2 separate regions of the Homo sapiens genome follow, and region 2 is linked to region 1. The links are contacts of gene promoters, found by promoter capture Hi-C in blood cells and fetal thymus (Javierre and others, 2016). All regions are on one chromosome and are shown on one strand. Each heading gives the region's core, a stretch centred on a gene start or on the middle of the fragment in contact. The rest is flanking DNA. Distances are from core to core; before and after follow the strand shown. Region 1 holds the start of C1QB (complement C1q B chain). Region 2 holds the start of LOC124903874 (a long non-coding RNA gene).

What was found. The method cuts DNA at HindIII sites, captures the fragments that hold promoters and counts their contacts. A CHiCAGO score of 5 or more calls a contact.
Region 2: a fragment that was not itself captured here is called in contact with the fragment with the promoter of C1QB in region 1 in 2 of 17 cell types (M0 macrophages and M2 macrophages); the score reaches 6.2 in M0 macrophages.

What each region holds. Positions count from the first base shown.
Region 1 is chr1:22,651,223-22,655,002 of GRCh38, reverse strand. It overlaps C1QB (complement C1q B chain), which reads right to left and starts at 1,767. Exons shown (of 3, transcript NM_001378156.1): 1 at 1,700-1,767. The HindIII fragment of the contact is 5,474 bases long and covers 1,312-3,780 here.
Region 2 is chr1:22,887,639-22,891,418 of GRCh38, reverse strand. All of the region lies in intron 6 of EPHB2 (EPH receptor B2), which reads right to left. It overlaps LOC124903874 (a long non-coding RNA gene), which reads left to right and starts at 1,859. Exons shown (of 3, transcript XR_007065534.1): 1 at 1,859-1,912. RefSeq lists a silencer at 1,702-1,907. The HindIII fragment of the contact is 2,047 bases long and covers 950-2,996 here.

The sequences.
Region 1 (3,780 bases), core at 518-3,017:
GGCTGGGAGTCAAACCCACATCCACTGGATCTTAAAACTCAATGTTATGTTAAGAGGCCACTGTACCTGGTGGTAAAAACATAAACTTTGAAGCCAGACAGCCTGATAAAAGGACTAATGCATGGGACACACCAAGGGTAGTGGTAGGCACATGGTCAGTGTTCGGTGAAAGTGGCTTTTTACCACCACGATGATTGCTGCTCTTGTTAGGCAGCACACATTCACCTGGTGGCGGGAGCCTGTAGTGTCACAAGGAAAGCAACACTCAGCGTTCACATAAGGTCTCTACTGCTTCTTAGCTAAGGGACTTGGGAAATCACTCCTTCTCTCTGGCCACAGTTTACCCTCCTATAAAGTGGGGATAATGCTACTCTCTCCCTCATAGGGTATGTGCGAGGACATGAGTTACAGCTTCCAACAGAGCCTGGCATGTTGGAAATTCTTAATGAATATTAGCTATTTTATTATTATCACTGTCATCCAAGAATTCCTGAGTGGTTGAACAGAAGGGAAGATGGTTGGAGAAGTAAAAAAAGACAATCCCTTTGAAAGACTGTGTTTAGAGGGAGGGGCTCTGTCAGTTGGAGGCAGCAAGGGGTGGAGAGCTGTGACCAGTTGGTGGGGAGAGAGGGTGGGGAGCAGGGTACTGACAGGACTTGGGCTTCCTGGGGAAGCCAGGGGCAGGGGGAGTGGGAAAGTGCTGGTTCTAGCCCATTTCAAAAGCCACCGAGTTTCAGCCTTGGGTTAGGGCTTACAACTCATCTGGTTTAACTGCCTCCTGCCTGTGCCAGCCCATCATCATTGCCAGCGCGGTTTCTCCTGTCCTCCCCCCAGGCTCTGACCTTTCCATCTCCTTCGGTCCAGCAGTCCCTTTCCGCAACATGGAGTCAGGCCCACTTGACTTTAAAGCCCCATCTGCTACCGGCTGCATAACCTCAGGCAAGTGCCTTAACCTCTCTGAGCCTCTTGGCAATGCTGATTTCAACCTGACAGGGCTGCCAGAAGGATGACAGGAGAAGGCGCTTAGAAGAAATAAGGTCCCCCCTGCCCCGTGCAGTGCCACATCCCACTCCCCAGCTGCACAAACATTGCGCTCACTCAGTACTAGCTGAGAACTCATCGTAACTCTACCTGCACATCCCCTTATTTCTTTGGAAGAGTCAAGCTGAGCTTTCTCAGCGAGTATGAGGAAATAAGCAAGGTGTTGGGGAAATGCTGGGCCGGGCAGGAGCGACTGGCTTATAATCCCACTCCTGCCTCTGGTTTACTGATAAATTTTGAGCCAGGGCATGCACTAAGCTTTTGCAAGCTTGATCTCCTGTAAGGCACAGCAGTGCTGAAAGATTCTGTTCTCTGTAGGGGGGCCGGGCTGAGAGAGGTTAGGTGACTTGCCCAAGATAACCAATACATAAGGTGCAGAGCCAGACTCAGCTCAAGTCTCTGCGATGCCAAAGCTCCTATGTGCCAGGCTCCCGCTTTAGGTGGCCTGCCCATCCGCTAGGCCCTGGGTAGCAGCAGACTCCCCAACTCACCCCAGAGATCTGGGTCCCATAGGTCTGGGATTGGGCCCAGCTACCTGCACTGTTAAACAGCCTAACTGGCTCCGAGGCAGGTGACGCAAAGCTCACACTTACGGAATCACCACTTTCTGCCATATTGGCCCTGCCAGCCTCCCCCAGGCGCCAAGCCCCGTCCTCACCTGGGAAGCTGGTGTCCTGTGAGGCCACTGGGCTGAGCAGCAGTGGGACCAGGAGCCGAGAGCCTACTGCCCTCGGTCCGAAGCGGAAGTTCCCTTCCCCAGAGGCGGGAAGGGCTTTCCCCTGACGGTCCCCTCCCATGGACCAGCAGGCTGGCCCCTTTCCCGTCCCCTCACTGTCCCCCCACCCTGCTGCCCTCAGGCAGTTTCAGGTCCTATTTCTGCAACCCACTGGATTTACTGTAAATGAGACGGGTGGGTGGCAAGTTTGGTTCTGCCAACTCAGCAGCTGTGGGGAGAACACGCTGTCCTGGGGGAACATCCACAGCTCACCCTCCCAGGCTCTCTGACCTCGTGATCTTCTTCTACACTGGGCAGGGGTGTTCCTCAGTGAGCATCATGTGGCGGGCCCGCTGCCTGAGTGCTGGCTTACAGTCAGAGCCTTTGATTCCAATCCCGCCTCTGCCACTTGCCAGTTGATGTGTTGTCAGTCAAGGGAGCCCCAATTTTCTCTGCTATAGGATGGGACCATAATTGTACCTGCTCTACAGATACAGATCTCACAGGCCACTGGGAGGATAATGGAGGAAATGATGGGGGAGGAAGTGTCTGGGGGTAAACTGTAAAGGGCTGTGCACGTGTTCATTGTTAATATCACTTCATGTCCCAGGCTTCCCCTTTCTGGGCTCATCTCTTCTGCTTCCTTCCCATTCTGTGCCCCTGCTCTTTCCCTGTTCTCAGAAAATAATCTCATAATGAATTTTAAATGTGTTCATTATTTATTGATACCCCTCCCTCTGCTTCCAGCAGGGCTGGACGCTGATGACAATAATAGGCCCAGGCAGGGGCCTGTTGCTTCTTCTCGATCCTGGAATCACGCCAAGTTAGGGCCGGAGAGGGGCTGAGGTTACTCGGCCCATCCTCCTCATTTTATATACGAGGAAACTGAGGCCCAGAGGGGAGACCCACCATTTAACAAATATTTAGTGTTTGCTTCCATGTGCACTGAAGAGAGAGCTCTTAGCAAATCAGCCATGGTCCCTGCCCCCATGGGGCCTCCCTTCTACGGGGGGAGACTGGTGTTAAACACGGAATGACATGAGGCTTCATTGCTTCTGTGATAAATGTCACAGAAAGACGTGACTGCTGGGGCCGATGCCTCATGGAGGTGGCAGATGCAGACCTGGAAGCCGGCATCCCTGGCACTAGGATATCAGTCTCTCCCTGTGGCTGCGTCTCAGACGACATGATGACTAGCAAGCACCAGGAGCTGGAGGCCCTCTTGACATCTGTGCTTGGAGATGGAAATTCACTGGGCTTGTGGATGCAGCTTGGTGGAAATTAAGTGTTAACTGCAATGGGTGAACAGGAGGGAAAGATAAGTTTGATAAAACCAAAAGGTCTCTGAGCTCAGTCAACTATAGTCCCGAAGGGACCCAGGCTAGGGTGAAGAGAAGAAACACTGGATTCCACAAAGGGAGAAACGAGTTAGTAGGTTGCAAGTTGAGGGCTTCTGAGCATTCCCAAAGCCGAGTGGCTCTGGGCCTCTAGTTCTTTTTTTTTTTTTTTTTCTTGAGATGGAGTCTCAGTCTGTTGCTCAGGCTGGAGTGCAGTGGTGCGACCTCAGCTCACTAGAACCTCTTCCTCCCAAGTTCAAGCGATTCTCCTGCCTCAGCCTCCCAGGTAGCTGGGACTACAGGTGCATGCCACCAAGCCCAGCTAATTTTTGTATTTTTTTTTAGTAGATACAGGGTTTCACCATGTTGGCCAGGCCGGTCTCAAACTCCTGACCTCAAGTTGATCTGCCTGCCTCGGCCTCCCAAAGTGCTGGGATTACAGGCGTGAGCCACCATGCCCAGCCTCTGGGCCTCTAATTCTTAGGTGGCTAAGGGCAATGGGAAAAGATGGATGTCAATTTGGGGTAGAAGCAGTGAGGCTAAGAACAGGAAGCAGCAGAGGTGGGTTAGGAGCACGGACTTTGGCAGTTTGAATCCCAGCTCTTCGTCTTGCTAACTATGTGGCCACGGGAATGTTTACTGGCCTCAGTTTCCTCGTGTAGAAATGGGAAGCATGAACGCCTATCT
Region 2 (3,780 bases), core at 724-3,223, 240 kb before region 1:
TCATGAAGCTCCTGAGACAATTTTTTTCTGACGAAAATCTGTGAATGCTTATCCAGAAAAACACACACCTAGTTGTACATGCCAGTCACACACACATCACAGAGTGCACGGAGCCCTTGAAAACCTTCCCAAAACAATGAAGATTCAGTGCGTGCAATGTTATTACAGGCTTTATAGCATGGAGGTTAAGATCACAAGCTGGAGCCAGACTTCTTGGGTTCAAATCCTGGCTCTAGTATATATGACCTCTGTGACCTTGGGCAAGTTCCTTAACTTCTCTGTGTCTTCATCTGTAAAAGGGGGATAGTAACAGTAGCTACCTCAGAGTTTGTTCAGATAATAAAATGAATCAATAGGTATAACAGGCTCACACTGATAGGGTAAGCACATACCGAGGGACATGTGACCTGGTCTGGGACGGGGGCTGCATTAGTCCCTTCTCATGCTGCTATACACACATACCCAAGACTAGGTAATTTATAAAGGAAAGAAGTGAAATTGACCCACAGTTCCTCATGCCTGGGGAGGCCTCAGGAAACTTACAACCATGGCAGAAGAAGAAGCAAACACATACTTCTTCACATGGTGGCAGGAGAGAGAAGTGCCGAGCAAAGGGGGAAAAGCCCCTTATAAAACCATCAGATCTTGTGCAAACTCACTCACTATCATGAGAAAAGCATGGGGGTAACCACCCCCGTGATTCAATTACCTCCTACTAGGTCCCTCTCACAACAGGTGGGGATTATGGGAACTTCAATTCAAGATGAGATTTGGGCGGGGACACAGCCAAACCATATCAGGGGCTACCAGGTGAAGTCAGGAAAGCTCCCTCGTGAGTGGGGGTCACTGGAATGGGATCTCAAAGAACAAACAGGAACCACCCAGACAAAGATGTGCATGCCTGGCAGAAGGGGCAGCAGGTTCAGAGGAAAGGAGAGGAGAAAAAGCTTGGGATGTAGGGGATATGAAGGGGGCTGACTTGAAGATGTGTCTCTACCACCCCCATAACAGGGGGAGGCAGGGATAGCTGGGTGGGGCAGCAGCAGAGAGGAAGTCTCTTTTGCCAAGCCAGATCATCTGCCTCCTCCTCCAGGAAGCCTCCTTGACATCCCAGCCAGATGCACCTCTTCCTTCTCAGTCCCAGAGCACTTGCTGTGGGTGCCACAGGAGGGGGTTTCTGCTATGCCCCCTCAACTTCCAGCTGAGGCTCCTCTCGCCCCCTTAACTCTAAGCCCATGAGGGAGGGCTTGTGTTTGTTCCCCTGTACCAAGTTTGGGGTCCCTCACACAAAGTCCTTCTCCAGTGCCCACAGGGTGAAGGCCGACTCCTTAGCCTGGCATTCCAGACCCTTCATGACCCACCATTTTGCAGTCTCTCCTGCAACATCCCTAATGTTTCCTAGGTTCCTGCCATCCCTAACTCTTTCCCCCTTCCTTGGTAGAGCTGCCAGATTTAGCAAACACAAATATAGGATGCTGCTCAGTCAAATTTAAATTTCAGATGAACAACAAATACATTTTGGTATAAGTACGCCCCGTGCAATATTTGGGACATATTTGTACTAAAACATTTATTTTTAAAAAATTCAAATGTAATCATGTGTCTTCTATTTTATCTAGCAACTCTACCTTCCATGGACACTCTTGAGTTTTTGCAAGCACTGTTGCCCCTGTCTGAAATACCCTTTCCTCACTTGTCTTGCAGTGTCCTACTCATCGTTCAAGACTCAGCGCAAGTGCCACCTCTGCTGGGGAGACTTCCCAGATGTCCCAGCCAGGGGTTGTGGGTCCAAATTGTCTCCCCTCCCACCTATTGTCCTAATATACCTGTCCATCTTCTTTAAGGATGTGGATTTCCTGAGGCCAGGGACCATGTCTTGCTCATCTCTGGATCCCCCCAGGTTTGCCACACAGTAAGTGTTCACTAATTATTGACATAATGAATGAACATTAAACTGGTATTCAAAAATCTACAAAACCTGGGATGCAGTACCAGACATGGACACTAAGTGCCACTGTACAACATGGGCTCTGCTCAGACTTGAAAACAGGTTAGATTCTGTAAACTGGGTGGGTGCCCACTTAGAGATGTTGGAGGTTTTAAGCCCCTGATTATGTGAGGGAGATGAGAGGCGGCTGCTGGTTCCATAGGTGCCTCATGAGAGTGAGGAACCAACCTGAGCAGCTCCCTTCATTAAAGCTGGGCAAGGGATTGGAAGCTGTTTCATTTTTCATTTTTGTCTCTCTCTGTCTGACTATATTTTTGAGACAGGGTGTTGCTCTGTGACCCAGGCTGGAGTGCAGTGGCGCGATTATGGCCCATTGCAGCCTCGACCTCCCAGACACAAGCGATCCTCCCACCTCAGCCTCCCTAGTAGCTAGGACTACAGGCACATACCATCACACCCGGCTAATTTTTGTATTTTTGGTAGAGACAGGGTTTCATCATGTTACCCAGGCTGGTCTGGAGCTCCTGGACTCAAATGATCCACCCGTCTCAGCTTCCCAAAGTGCTGGGATTACAGACATGAGTCACTGTACCCAGCTGGAAGCTGCTTCATATCCTTGTTTTTTCACTTGATTGCACTGTGACCTTGGGAAAGACCCTTCACTTCCCTGAGCCCCTGTTTTCTATTCCAAATAAATGGAACAATAAATGCCAAGCTCTCAGGGCTGTTGTGAAGATAAAATTTGATCAGGTAGTGCCTGGCACATTGGAGATGCCCGAGAGACGCCAATTCCCTTCGGTCTCTCCTCTCCCTGGGGTACCTTTATCTGAACAGTGATTAAGCACCAAGGGACGATGGGAAGAGATTCAGTATGAAATCCACTAGTCCTTAGTCTGAGCACTTACCTGGTAGCTTAGGGCCAGTGAGGCATTGGGTGCATGTCTTAAGCCTTCCAGGCCTCAGTTTTCTCATCTCTAAAGTGGGTTAATGCAAGTAGGTACCATAAAAGGTGGTTTTGGAGATTTAAAAGGAAAATACAGGTAAAGCTTTTTAGCACAGTCTCTAGCACATAAAAAGACTTAATAAATGTTGGCTCCCACCATCACTGTTATCATCAAAACCATTATAGAGGCCAGGCGCAGTGGCTCATGCCTGTAATCCCAGCACTTTGTGAGGCCGAGGGCTGGATCACCTGAGGTCAGGAGTTCGAGAACAGCCTGACCAACATGGTGAAACCCCATCTCTACTAAAAATACAAAAAATTAGCCGAGCGTGGTGGCACATGCCTGTAATCCCAGCTACTTGGGAGACTGAGGCTGGAGAATCACTTGAACCCGGGAGACGGAGGTTGCAGTGAGCTTGCGTCATGACACTCCAGCCTGGGCAACAAGAGCAAAACTCTGTTGTCACACACACAAAAAAAACCCCCAAAAAACAAACAAACAAAAAAACCATTATAGAGTAAGCCCTTTCCCATGTTCATTAAATGGATGGATGAATGCAAAAGTGAATGAATGAGTGGACAAACCTCTCCAGGTAGATCCTACTCCAGGTACTGGGCAACAAGCTGAATATGGCCTGAACTTTCATAGTTTCACCCCCCATCCTCCAACCTTTGCTCCTTCTGCCTGGAATGTCCTTCCTCTTCATTTTCTGTTAAATAAATTCTAAAATTGATGTGGGCTACCAGGGGCCATCGACCACAGGTGGCCTCATGAATGGCTCTTCTCCTTGAGTTCTTGGGGGACCAGTGGGATCCTGAACCTGTGTGCTTTGGGGTAGCTGCCAAAGGAGGCCACCTCCCCTGGGGCGTTGGAACTGACGGAAGCAGC